Regions from separate parts of the Homo sapiens genome. Here regions 2, 3 and 4 are each linked to region 1. The links are contacts of gene promoters, found by promoter capture Hi-C in blood cells and fetal thymus (Javierre and others, 2016). All regions are on one chromosome and are shown on one strand. The core of a region is centred on a gene start or on the middle of the fragment in contact, and the rest is flanking DNA. Distances in the headings are between cores, read along the strand shown. Region 1 holds the start of ZNF417 (zinc finger protein 417). Region 2 holds the start of ZIK1 (zinc finger protein interacting with K protein 1). Region 3 holds the start of ZNF550 (zinc finger protein 550). Region 4 overlaps ZNF772 (zinc finger protein 772).

Region 1 (3,054 bases), core at 1-2,500:
AATGCACAGCCCTCGGCCTGCTTACTCTTCCAGGGAGAGCTCCACCTCACACTTTGTTCCAGACAGGTTCCATCCTCCCGGCTCCGTCCATCTCCAGGCCATTGCCTGCGCCCCTCCCTGTGCTTGTTGCTCTCCCCACCGCATCCCACGGGTGTCAGAAACAGGTGAAACCGTCTTTGCAAAATTATAACTGAGGAAATTATGACAGTGAAAGAAATCAGACCTTACTGACTCCGTCTTGCTTCCAACCTTTCAGCTGTCCTTGTTCATTCCTGGGTATAGGCTGAATTAACTTAGGGAAGGAATTCAGTTCATGGTTTCACTCTGAAACAAAATTGATAATAGCCCTTTCCTGAAAAGACCCCCTTCTTGCCTGGAGAACAGCCTGCCTTTGCAGGACTAACGAATTAGCTACAAGGTTAGAAATTACCGTTTAGGGGTCATGCAGCTTCTGACTCCAAGAGTCTGAACCTCCCCAAGTTGCTCCTGAAGATAAATCACTATTGTAAAACCTAAGATCAGTGCTTGAGGTATTTTGCAGATCCTGCACTGGATGGATCAGCTGACAACACACAGACCGGTAATCTGGGTCAATCAGTTCTGCCATCCCACCCAGAACAGAAAACAGCATGAAAAACTCACTTTAACCCTCTATGAATCCATCTCAGGTCCCAACCCTTACCGCCAAATTAATGTTGAAAACTCTGATCCCGGAATGCTAATGGAGACTGATTTGAGTAATAATAAAACTCCTGTCTCCAGAACAGCCTGACGGCTCTGCGTCAATTACTATTTCTCCATCGCAATTCTCCAGTCTTCATAAATCGGCTCTGTCTAGGCAGCTGGCAAGGTGAACCCACTGGACAGTTACACAGGGACCCCCACTGGACAGTTACACAGGGACCCCTCCTGCGAGCGCCTCAGTGTTCCTACGCCGGGTACCGGCTACAGACCCGTGAGCAGGAGCCGCTCCCTCGCTGGTTTAGGACCTGGGTGACGATGGGGTGACCTGAGGGCACAGAAGGCGCCACAATTACCTGAGTCGGGCGCCTCGGCGCAGCCGCTGCCATCGGACTACTTGGGGAAGCACGGCCCGGGAGCAGTGGTCGCCGTCACGGGGCTGCAGAGCCGCCTCTGGGCACCGAGGACGATTCCTCTCCACCTTCTAGGTTCAGTCACCGCGGTCCCCCCCCAGCACTCAGGGGCCACAAACTGGGGAAACACCCGCGTCACCGATACACAGCCGCTACTAGAGACCCCGGAAGTCTCAGCCTTACGTTACGTGCACACGTGGAAATGCCTTCTTTCCGAGTGCTCATTGGCTCTGACCGGCTGTCGTTTAACGCAGAGCTTTCTGGGTAATGTAGTTCCCCACTTTCCATGGCGCTAAAAAGAGCGATACCCAGAGTCCATCTGCAGGAAAAGCCCGCCATCAGGTCAGGGGTTCTCCTTAAAAAGCGCACCCTTCTGGCCGGGCGCAGTGGCTCAAGCCTGTAATCTCAGCACTTTGGAAGGCGGAGGTGGGCGGATCACGAGGTCAGGAGATGGAGACCATCCTGGCTAACACGGTGAAACCCCGTGTCTACTAAAAATTCAAAAAAAAAAAAAGTTAGCTGGGTGTGGTGGCGGGCGCCTACAGTCACAGCTACTCTGGAGGCTGAGGCTGGAGGAGAATGGCGTGAACCTGGGAGGCAGAGCTTGCAGTGAGCTGGGATCGCGCCACTGCCCTCCAGCCTGCGCGACAGAGCAAGACTCTGTCTCAAAAAAAAAAAAAAAAAAAAAAAAAAAAAAAAAAAAAAAGGCGCCTTTCTAGGGCAGAGGAGGGGTCTCACCTAGCCTTAGAAGCCGTATTGAGATTCCTGGAGACTAGTGTCTGTAACTAATCACTCAAGAATCTGGAAAAATACTGTTTCAGATTTCGGGGAGCGCAAGGTAAATAATAGGGAGCTCAAGCTAAAACTATTATTTAGGATTCTCCTAAAGGCTAAAAATCCAAATTACCACACCGTTTGAAACAGTCGTTCAGTCGCAAAATACCTGCACTGGAAGCAGAGGCTGATAAGCGTTGTTGTGTTATAATGTGTCTGAAGGCCCTCAGAAGCCTTAGAGTGCCTAAGGCAAATGAAGGAAGTTAGGGATGTGCTCCCCTATAGCAGGAGTGCAAAGCTGAATCTCTGTGATTCCTACAGAAAACAACTCTCCTGCTGATAGAATCTGTGAAAGGAAAATCTTGTGGCCTCAAAATTACTAAGCTAAAGGGAAAAGTCAATCTGGGAACTGCTCAGGGCAAACTTGCCTCCCATTCTATTCAAAGTCTTCCCTCTCCTCACTGAGATAGATGCCTATTCTGATTGCCTCCTTTGGAAGGACTTATCAGAAATTAAAAAGAATCCAACTATTTGTCTCTCTACCTGTCTACCTGTGACCTGGAAGTCCCCTCCCTGCTTCGAGTTGTTCCCGCCTTTCTGGTCGGAACCAATGTACTTCTTACATATATTCACTGATGTCTCATGTCCCCCTAAAATGTATAAAACCAACCTGTACCCCAACCACCATGGGCACATGTCGTCAGGACTTCCTGAGGCTGTGTCACGGGCATGTGTCCTCAACCTTGGCAAAATAAACTTTTTCTTTTATGAGACGGAGTCTCGCTCTTTGGTCAGGCTCGAGTGCAGTGGCGCGATCTCGGCTCACTGCAACCTCTGCCTCTCGGGTTCAAGTGATTCTCCTGCCTTAGCCTCCCGAGTAGCTGGGAGTACAGGCACGTGGCATCACGCCAATTTTTGTAGTTTCAGTACAGACGGGGGTTTCACCTTGTTTAGGATGGTCTCGATCTCCCTCGTGATCTGCCTGCCTCACCCTCCAATGTGTTGGGGTTACAGGCATGAGTCACCACACCTGGCCAGCAAAATAAACTATTTAAATTAACTGAGACCTGTCTCAAATTTGGGGGGTTCACAAATCATTATAGCGTTCAATTAATTGAACAACACTTTTTCCCACTTAGTATCCTTTACTTGATATTCTAACTTACATTCAACTCCTTTTAGTAAT
Region 2 (2,700 bases), core at 132-2,631, 330 kb before region 1:
CCTGGGCTCAAGCGATACTCCCACCTCAGCATCCTGAGTAGCTAGGATTACAGGTGCACCACCATACTCGGGTAATTTTTTAGTTTTTGTAGAGACGGGGTCTGGCTATGTTGCCCAAGTGGTCCTTCCACCTCAGCCTCCCAATGTGCTTGGATTACAGGTGTGAGCCACCGCGCTGGGCCTGACATTTTCTTTTCTGCACATTCTCTAGCTGTGTAACTTGCAACTCTTTAGCTCTGTGCCTGCAAAATAACTGGACATTATGTTACCAACAGAGGATGGCCAGATGAGACTGGTCCAGTGGTTAAACCTGCACCTTCATGGAGGCCATTATGAGTATCCCTACAGGCCGAGTCTCAGGGTGCCCCCAGAAGCCCATACCAGCCGCTGTAAGGCAGAGCATGGACTTCCCCTCGGGGACTAAATCCCATTCTTGGGCTCCAGAGGCCTTGTTCCTACCACTGTACGCCACCGCTTGGGGTGCCCTGGGAACCCGCCTACCTCCCTACTGCCCTGAGGGCGGTTGGAGATGGTCCCAGCAGGTGTGGGAGATGAGGTAGGAGACGTCTTCAACGGGGTCCAAGGCTCATCTGGACCCAGTTCTCAGCCGAGGGGCGGTGGAGAGGGCGTCAGAAAACGCAGGAACGGCTCCTAGACCCAGGAGGGGACTCAGGGAAGCAGAGGCGCTTTCCTCGGCGGCTCTGGGGCCTTCCCAGCTCGCCCGGCCCCCCTGGAGGAGACGTCCCCCGGGGTGGAGCTACGGAGAACCCCTTCCCATGGGACGTCTCGGCCCCGCCTCCCGCCTCTGGGTACAGTCAAAGGGCTCAGGTCAGAGCAGGAGCAGCCGGGGGCGCGGCCCCCACGTGGCCTCCCGGGACACGTGCCCACAGCGCGACACCTAAGTCGCTCCTTTCACAGAATAGCCTTGGCCCCGGCACGGCCTCGAACGCCTTGACCCCGCAAGGGAGGGGCACGAGGCTCCTTTGCTCCCGCAGGAGCGTCGAATACGTATGGAATACGCGTCGGTGTGGATCTGGCCTCAGCTTCCTGAGCCTGAATCAATGCTTCTAATCACGTGGGCGCTCAGCCGCGACGGGACCACAGAAATCGACCAGCGGCCTGTTTAAGGAGCGACAAGGCCCAGCCCTCTCCTGCATTGTGGCGACGCCATTTCCCTGCGCCCCCAGCGCGGCCGCTTGGCTTTTGTTTGAGGTGACGCTGGGCGGCAGCATCCTTCCCTCAGCCCTGGGGACCAGCGGGGACTACAGAACCCAGAAGGTTTTGTCTCCAGCCGCAGGGATGCTGAGCCAATCCGCGCTGAGAAAAGGGTCGTTTCCGCTTTGGGACCAATGGGTCGGGGAGGGACTTCCGGTATCACTTCAGTGGCGGTCATTTTTGCAGCGCTTGGGTGCATCCAGACCGTCAGAGCTTTGGGAGCGCTTTGTTTGGCGACAGTCGGAAGGCGCGAGGGGAGGGGTCCTCCCGCTGAACAGTGGGGGTTCTAAGGGTCGGCGGCGGCGGGGTTGACGGCTTTGCCTAGGTCCCTCCGCCCGTAGCTGTCGGGTCCCGGCCCCGCTCTGCCCACAGACTCCGATGGCTGCGGCCGCGCTGAGGGCCCCGACTCAGGTGAGCGCTGCCTCTACTGGGCCTCACCCTCCATCCCCAAATTAGTGCCTTCTTGGGTCACTACGGTCGAGATCCTCATGTCCAGTACAGTGGGGGCTCGTGGGTGGGGTCCCTATTTCCAGAACTTGGGTGATGGGGCACGGAAGAGGGTTACAGGCAAAGGGACCAGCGTTTCTAAACTCTTGGAGACACAGTGAAGAAGGTTCATACCTGGAGTGCCAAGGTGAGGAGTTTTCCCTCAATTCTTAGGATGCTAGGAGCCGTGGAGGGTTGTGTACAGAAGCGGCATATGGTCTGAGTTAGGTCTTTCGAAGTTTTCCAAAAACCTCATGGAGTTAGACTAGAATAGAATGGAATAACACAGAGGCACAGGGAGGTTGAGTTCTTGTGCAAGGTCCCACAGTTGCTAAGAGTTGGCACTGAGGACTGGAACGCTGAGGCTCAGAAATAATGCAGGCATCCTCAGTCCACCTGGCTCTGGCCTGGACAGGAATCCAGGGAAGCCTGAATCCGTAGAGCCCTGTATGGTCACCTGCCTTTCATGATCTTTGGCTTTCCACAGGTTACTGTGTCTCCAGAAACACATATGGACCTCACAAAGGTGAGTGGAGGGTGTCCCAGGCCCTCACTGGTCCTGGCCCCATCCTGGGGTTTTTTCATGGATCTTTTTGCCACCATCCAGTTCTTTGACCTAAGGACTCTTCACAAACTGGAAGCTTGACATCCTGATTCTAGACTGGTGGTTATTTGTAGACGTTCTTATTGCTGGCAGACAATGGAATGAGGTGTGAAAGGTTGCCCCGCCTACGTACAATAATGTGTAAGGTTGGCAGTGAAGCTGAGCTGATTCAGGGAAACACAACTCTCCTTTCTTTCTCATGGGAACTCAGAGCAGCAGGGCAGGACTCAGGCCTGGAATGGCTCTGAGAAATTGGGTGTTTTTTCTGGAGGTGATGAGAACAATGGGAGGTTTAGAGAAGAGAACGGAGGTTATCTGACACTGGTCTCATCAGGTTCACTGTTAATGCAGCATAGAGAATACTCTGTGGGTGTGATGGAGGCGATAGAAAGACC
Region 3 (3,053 bases), core at 160-2,659, 360 kb before region 1:
ATCATCAACCATTTATTAAGTACAATAAATGTACTTAAGCCTGGCTGTTCTGGGTCTTGGGAGAGGGAAGCAACAGGCACTCACATTCCAGGGTTGGAAAAAGATCCTAAACAGGCAACTAAATAAATGAGTAAGGCAATGTCAGATGGCCTTAAAGATTCAGATGACAAGAAAACAGAGCAAGGAGACCAAAGAGACTCTGGTCAGCTTTAAACGGTGCAACAGACGAGACCTCTTTAAGCAGCGGACACCAGAGGGAGTCAGAAATAAAGCAAAGGAGGGAGAGGTGGATGAGAAATTAACAACTACGACAGGAGCTGACAGTAATCTGGGCTATCATGAAAGTAATCAGAGTGACTGCTAGAGAGTAACCCTGGGCCTCATGTGTTATCTCCAAAGGGACACTACATCCTGCATACCATCGCCACTGAACATTTTAATGGACTCGTTTTTCACCTGTAACTAAATGTCTTAAACAGGAAAATATACTGTTAGTTGCAACCCAGCGTCCCTTGCCCTAAACTGAAAGACAAATTCCTCAGCCTGCCCTACCACCTTTTCTGCCCTGGCATAGCAGCAACCGCAGAAACGCTCCTCCCACCTCTTTCAGCCGCTGCCCTTCGTGTTGTAGAGACAGGAGGCCAAGGAGGCCAGAGGGTCAGACTCCTGCTGGGGTTGAGTCTCCAAACCTAGCACAGGCCCAGGGAGCAGCTCCGGAAACAACATCCTGAGCGACGTCCCCGGACCGTGCTGTGCACTGAGACGGACACACACACATCACCCAGGGAGCCGTTCAAGCTTCCTCAACCCCGGGGGGGGGAAGAGTAAATATTTCTACTTTGCGCGCGCAAAAATGAAGGACGAGGACAGTAACGGGACTTGTTCAAGGTCGCAGGCCCGAGAAAGGACATGGTTGGAAGAGCCACGAGGAGGACTGCGGTCGCTCCTCTCACCTGTGAGGGGTTCCGGGACCCTAAAAGCCCTATTTCATACCACAACGCCGCGCACCCCAGAAACGGGGACGCTCCCCACGCCACCGCGGGCCTGCATTCCGGACCCGGGACCGCGCGACCCCCTTCTAGGCCTCTAAGAAGCAACGGCAGGGACTGCACTGAGGACGACCCTGAAACGCCGTCCTTCCGCTCGTCGGGCCCGGGACACTGAGGCCGGGTGGCCGCGGGGAGCCGAGCCAGTCTGCTCACCTGCGCTGCGTCCTTCGTCTCCGCCATCCGACCGTTGGCAGGACGAGGCCGCGTGGGGCAGCTCCCACGGGCTCAAAACCCTACCCCGGGTCCTACAACGGTGCGGAGGTGAGCCCCAGTCGCCCTACCATCCTTCCCAGCACAGTTCTGAGAGCGCGGACCAACACGCCCCACCACAAACGTCCACGCCAGCGAGGCCGGAAGTCCCGCCCCTGTGTCGCGGTCGCCTGCCACGCCTTTTCCTGCGCCGGCCCACTGCCTTCTAGGTAATGTAGTCTTGTCCCGTAAGAGGCCAGGCTTGGCTCTTTTTCCTTTTTTATTATGCACACCATGTTTCTGTATATCTCAGATGATCTTAGCGGAGCAAGTGTACACACTGGATTGTAAATTTTTAAAACTTCCTATTATTCGGATGCCTCAACGTCCCTACAAGCAGGCTGTGAGCACTCGCCCAGGCACCCAGGTAAACGAGTTTGATAAAGGGGGCCCTGCCACGAGGTTCCCCGCTTGCCTCCTCTGAGTGACCCAGTGACATTCCCATGTACCAGTAAAATCTTACGCCTGGTTACTGCGTCCTCCTCCACCCTGACGCCAGGCACTGTCCCTGGGACTGGCGTGGATCTGGACCCCCGCTTCCCGCGTGGAGCCATTCCCGGGACATGCTCGTGGGGTTCCGTCTGTGGGACGTCTGCCTCCTCTGTGTGGACTGGTGTTGCCCAGGGCTCAGGAAGGTCTCCAGGGGCCGTGAGTCCCCGCCCGCTTCCGGAGTCCAGCTTCGTGACACCATCGTGAGAAAGAATGCAGGGATGAGTCAAAATGAAGCCAAAGGCAAGAAGCTTTTATTGGGAAGAAAAAGTACACATTTTTGAGAAGAGTGTACTTTTCCCAAGAGAAGAGGGAAATGCGGACGTACGAGGGAGAGCGGGTCATGCACAATGGAGTTTGGGTTTCTAATTTTATGGGCTCTTCTAATTAGGGGGTGGGATAATCATGAGGTTTTTCTAGGAAAAGGTGGGAATTTCTTAGAATTGGGGTGCCAACCATTTTTATACTAAATGTGGGCGTGCTTGGATTGGCCTGGCACTGGTGGGTGTGTGATTTAATGTGGCAATGAGTGTATAATTAGGTCTGGGGTAGGAAATGGGTCAAATCTAGCGTCATGGGACAGCCTAGCCCCAATCCTGTTTGTTAAGGTCTCATCAGCCCAGTCTTCTTGTTGGAGTAGCTAATTTTAACAGCTTGATGTTTTCCCCCTTCTCCTGTGACCACACAGCATTCCTATTTTGTGGGTGTTTCTTTAATTAGAGAGTGGAATAATTATTAGGTATTCTGGAAAAGGAGGGAAATTCAGGGACCCACCTGGTTACTGCCCCCTTTCTCTCTTATTTGGCTTTGCCCAGAAGAGTCATGGACATGTCATCCTGACTGGGATTTTGGCCATTCTTTCTCTTATTTTGGGTTTTCTGTTATCCTATGGTTTCTTTGCCTAGTTCTTGTTTTTATTTGTTGTTCGAATTTTTCCATCCTCCTGCAACCACCCAGTGCTATTCCTATATCACTGTGAGTATAAACACCCTTTAACCTTATAGGCTTCTTGAAGTATAATTCCCAAGACCATGTTGCAGTGGTCCTTAAAGAACCAATAAGGCAGAGAGAAACAAACATGTTCCAAATTTTGTTCTCAGGAGTAAACCTTACTCAATTGTTAAAGGCTGTAGCTAGCTCAAAAGAAGTTTCCTTGACTCTGAAAAACAAAACAAGGATCAGCAATGTTCCAAGCAAAAGTCAAAAAGATTATTTCAGTTTTTCTATTAGTTCAGCCTATTCTGTTAACTCTTGTTCTGCTTGATA
Region 4 (2,732 bases), core at 84-2,583, 440 kb before region 1:
GATTAGGCCTACAAAGACTGGCATTCTTTCCTAGGAGAGCTGAAGCAGTCAAGTAAGTTAGCTTGACACTAGCATAAGAGCTAGTCTTTGCCATCCTACTATCACTTCAGAGATACAGATAGTTGGAGCTCTCACAAAAGCTGTTCTTCCCTTCATACTGGCTTAGCTCAATTCTGTTCTCAACCCAACCCACAAAGCGAACAGAATCCTCAAGATTTCAGATAGTCTAAAAATTAAGGCATTTGTTGCAAAACCAGAATATGAGGCAGCCAATTTCAGGTCAGGTGTCTTGAAGGCTAGAAAAATTCGTCCCAAGTGCCATGTGAGATCAACTATATCCATGAAGGGAAACCTCTGCCAGTGGTCAGCAGAACAAAGCTCCCATTTTTCTGGCTAAAACTGGGTCATGCTCATGCTTAAACCAGTAGTGGGGCAGAAAAAAAGTGAGAATCCTTGATGGCCTCAGGCTACTGATGATTCCCTCCAGGGAAGGGAATAGTACAGAGGTCTGTCTTTTGAAACACATTGGGGTTACTTTGGCACAAGGCAGGACTCTTCCAGCACAAAGACAGATGGCTTCTAACAGGCACTGCCTTGACGAAATTCCAGCAAGAGTCTAGAAAATTCAGCATAGCTCCAGAAGGCTTCCCATATAGCTGGCACTCGGAAGAACCTCCCCAGGGTGAGTGTTTGAGTGTATAAAGTTCTACTTCTGGCTGTCGGCTACACATAAAGGCTATGCTTGGAGCTTCTCTCTGATGTCAGTTATTATGTTGAACAAGGAAACGGAATTATCTCCCATCCTAAGGCCTTTCTCCAGTGTGAATTTTCCAGTGGCGGATGAGGGAAGCCCTCTGCCTGAAGGCCTTCCCACATTCACTGCACTTATATGGCCTTTCTCCAGTGTGAATTCTATGATGCTGAACAAGTACATGTTTGTGGCTAAAGGCTTTTCCACATTCACTGCACACATAAGGCTTTTCACCATTATGAACTCTTTGATGTGCAATAAGGTCAGAGCTTTGGCTAAAGAACTTCCCACATGCGATGCACTCATAAGGCCTTGCTCCAGTATGAACACTCCAATGTTTAATGAGTCTGTATTTGTGACCAAAGTATTTTCCACATTCGCTGCACTCATATGGCCTTTCTCCAGTATGGATACTCTCATGCTGAACAAGTGTAGATTTGTGACTATAGGCTTTCCCACATTCACTGCACTTGTAAGGCCTTGCTCCAGTGTGTACTCTTTGATGTACAATAAGGTTAGAGCTATGATTAAAAACTTTCCCACATATGCCACACTCATAAGGCATTTCTCCAGTGTGGATTCTCTGGTGCTGAGCAAGTATGGGTTTGCGGCTAAAGGTTTTCCCACATTCACCGCACTCATAAGGCCTTTCTCCAGTGTGGACTCTCTGGTGTTGAACAAGTGAGTCTTTGCGGCTGAAGGTTTTCCCACATTCACTGCATTTGTAATGCCTTTTTCCACAGTGAGAGGCCTCCTCACACTTGGTGTTGCTGTGTGGCTTCCACTCATTGTGAGGGGCATGGTGCTCGAAAATGCTTGAGCTGGCTAGGAAGTCCTTACAAGCCTCCCCTGTCACAAAAGACATCTCCATTGATTGCACAGCACAGTTGTTCAGAAGAAAGGGCCTGCTCTTATCACTTCTAAAGGGTTTCTCTCCACTGTGCTGCTTCTGGTGCTGGTGAAGGTTTGCACTGAAGCAGAACTGTTTCCCACACAGCACACACATGTATGGTTTCTGCCCTGGGTGTGTTTCCTGGTGCTCAGCCAAGTGCAAAATGTCTTTTAAGACCAGGCCACATGTCCCACAGGGGTAAGCCTTCTGAGTAGAAGGACCTCCCTTGGGAATCCTGATCTGTGACATTCCTATAGAAAAGCTCTGCTCAAAAGGTATCTCTTCATCCTCCATTCCATGCCAACAACCTGAAAGCAGAGAAATGCTGGTGAAGTACAAATTGACACAGGTGGAAGAGGGGAAGCCTCACTACAAATATGTGTCTAACACAACTAAGACCAAGGTCATAGGACTGTTGTTAGGACAAGGGTCCAAACTCAAGTTCAGCAAATGTGTACTATACGGTAGTTGGCATCTAAATGTCATAGAATGGAGAAGGCCTCAACTGGGAGAGGACAAAGATGTGGGGTACAGCACAAAAAAGAGGCAGGTCTCAAAGTCATTCACAATCAGATTTTCTTGGCTGCTGGGGACAGGTGAGAGTTGTGCAGAAGGTTATGGTCCATACCAAAGAAAATCAAATTGCTACTCAGTAGTTGGTGTTTAAGGACTATTTGGGCTACACATCTCATGAAACACTAAGTACAGGCCAATGCTGGAAGGCACTGTAGAACAAGCCATGGAGAGGAACAGGTGAGACATGAAGGCAGAGGTATGGAACATCCAGAGGCCAAAGGCCAGAGTATGAAAGGCCAGTGGCCTTAGCACTAATACAACTGTAGGCACAAAGAGGCTATGGAATGATATGAACCCAGCCCTGACATCACACCTTTCCCCAGCTCCTACTCACCAGGGTCACTCCCACCTGGAGTCTCTGTGGCAACAGCTAGGGTCATGTCCACCCAGTCAGGTACCCAGGGCTCACTACCCATCACCAGTGAGGCAACTATGTGGGACATGAAAGATGTATGTCCTAAGGGAAAGATAGAACAGCACTGGTCTGGGTAACCCATATAGAAAACTAAATAT

The links. The method cuts DNA at HindIII sites, captures the fragments that hold promoters and counts their contacts. A CHiCAGO score of 5 or more calls a contact.
Region 2: a contact is called between the fragment with the promoter of ZIK1 here and the fragment with the promoter of ZNF417 in region 1, in 1 of 17 cell types (total CD8 T cells). The highest score is 5.2, in total CD8 T cells.
Region 3: a contact is called between the fragment with the promoter of ZNF550 here and the fragment with the promoter of ZNF417 in region 1, in 1 of 17 cell types (megakaryocytes). The highest score is 5.6, in megakaryocytes.
Region 4: a fragment that was not itself captured here is called in contact with the fragment with the promoter of ZNF417 in region 1 in 3 of 17 cell types (non-activated CD4 T cells, fetal thymus and M1 macrophages); the score reaches 5.6 in non-activated CD4 T cells.

Annotation. Positions count from the first base shown.
Region 1 is chr19:57,915,342-57,918,395 of GRCh38, forward strand. It overlaps ZNF417 (zinc finger protein 417), which reads right to left and starts at 1,251. Exons shown (of 3, transcript NM_152475.3): 1 at 1,038-1,251. The coding sequence starts at 1,070. RefSeq lists enhancers at 1,008-1,297, 1,316-2,171, 1,568-1,627. The HindIII fragment of the contact is 13,199 bases long and covers 1-3,054 here.
Region 2 is chr19:57,582,764-57,585,463 of GRCh38, forward strand. ZIK1 (zinc finger protein interacting with K protein 1) reads left to right here and starts at 1,382. Exons shown (of 4, transcript NM_001010879.4): 1 at 1,382-1,626; 2 at 2,189-2,227. The coding sequence starts at 1,594. RefSeq lists enhancers at 891-1,422, 1,119-1,218. The HindIII fragment of the contact is 4,281 bases long and covers 1-2,340 here.
Region 3 is chr19:57,558,454-57,561,506 of GRCh38, forward strand. ZNF550 (zinc finger protein 550) reads right to left here and starts at 1,410. Exons shown (of 4, transcript NM_001397372.1): 1 at 1,203-1,410. The coding sequence starts at 1,229. It overlaps LOC124904781 (a long non-coding RNA gene), which reads left to right and starts at 1,489. Exons shown (of 2, transcript XR_007067357.1): 1 at 1,489-1,665. RefSeq lists enhancers at 452-531, 676-1,540, 982-1,031, 1,518-2,717, 1,662-1,771. The HindIII fragment of the contact is 1,240 bases long and covers 797-2,036 here.
Region 4 is chr19:57,472,471-57,475,202 of GRCh38, forward strand. ZNF772 (zinc finger protein 772) reads right to left here. Exons shown (of 4, transcript NM_001144068.2): 4 at 1-1,951. The coding sequence ends at 804. Among named protein-coding and RNA genes, the nearest start is that of ZNF772, 3.7 kb to the right of the region's middle. The HindIII fragment of the contact is 6,834 bases long and covers 1-2,732 here.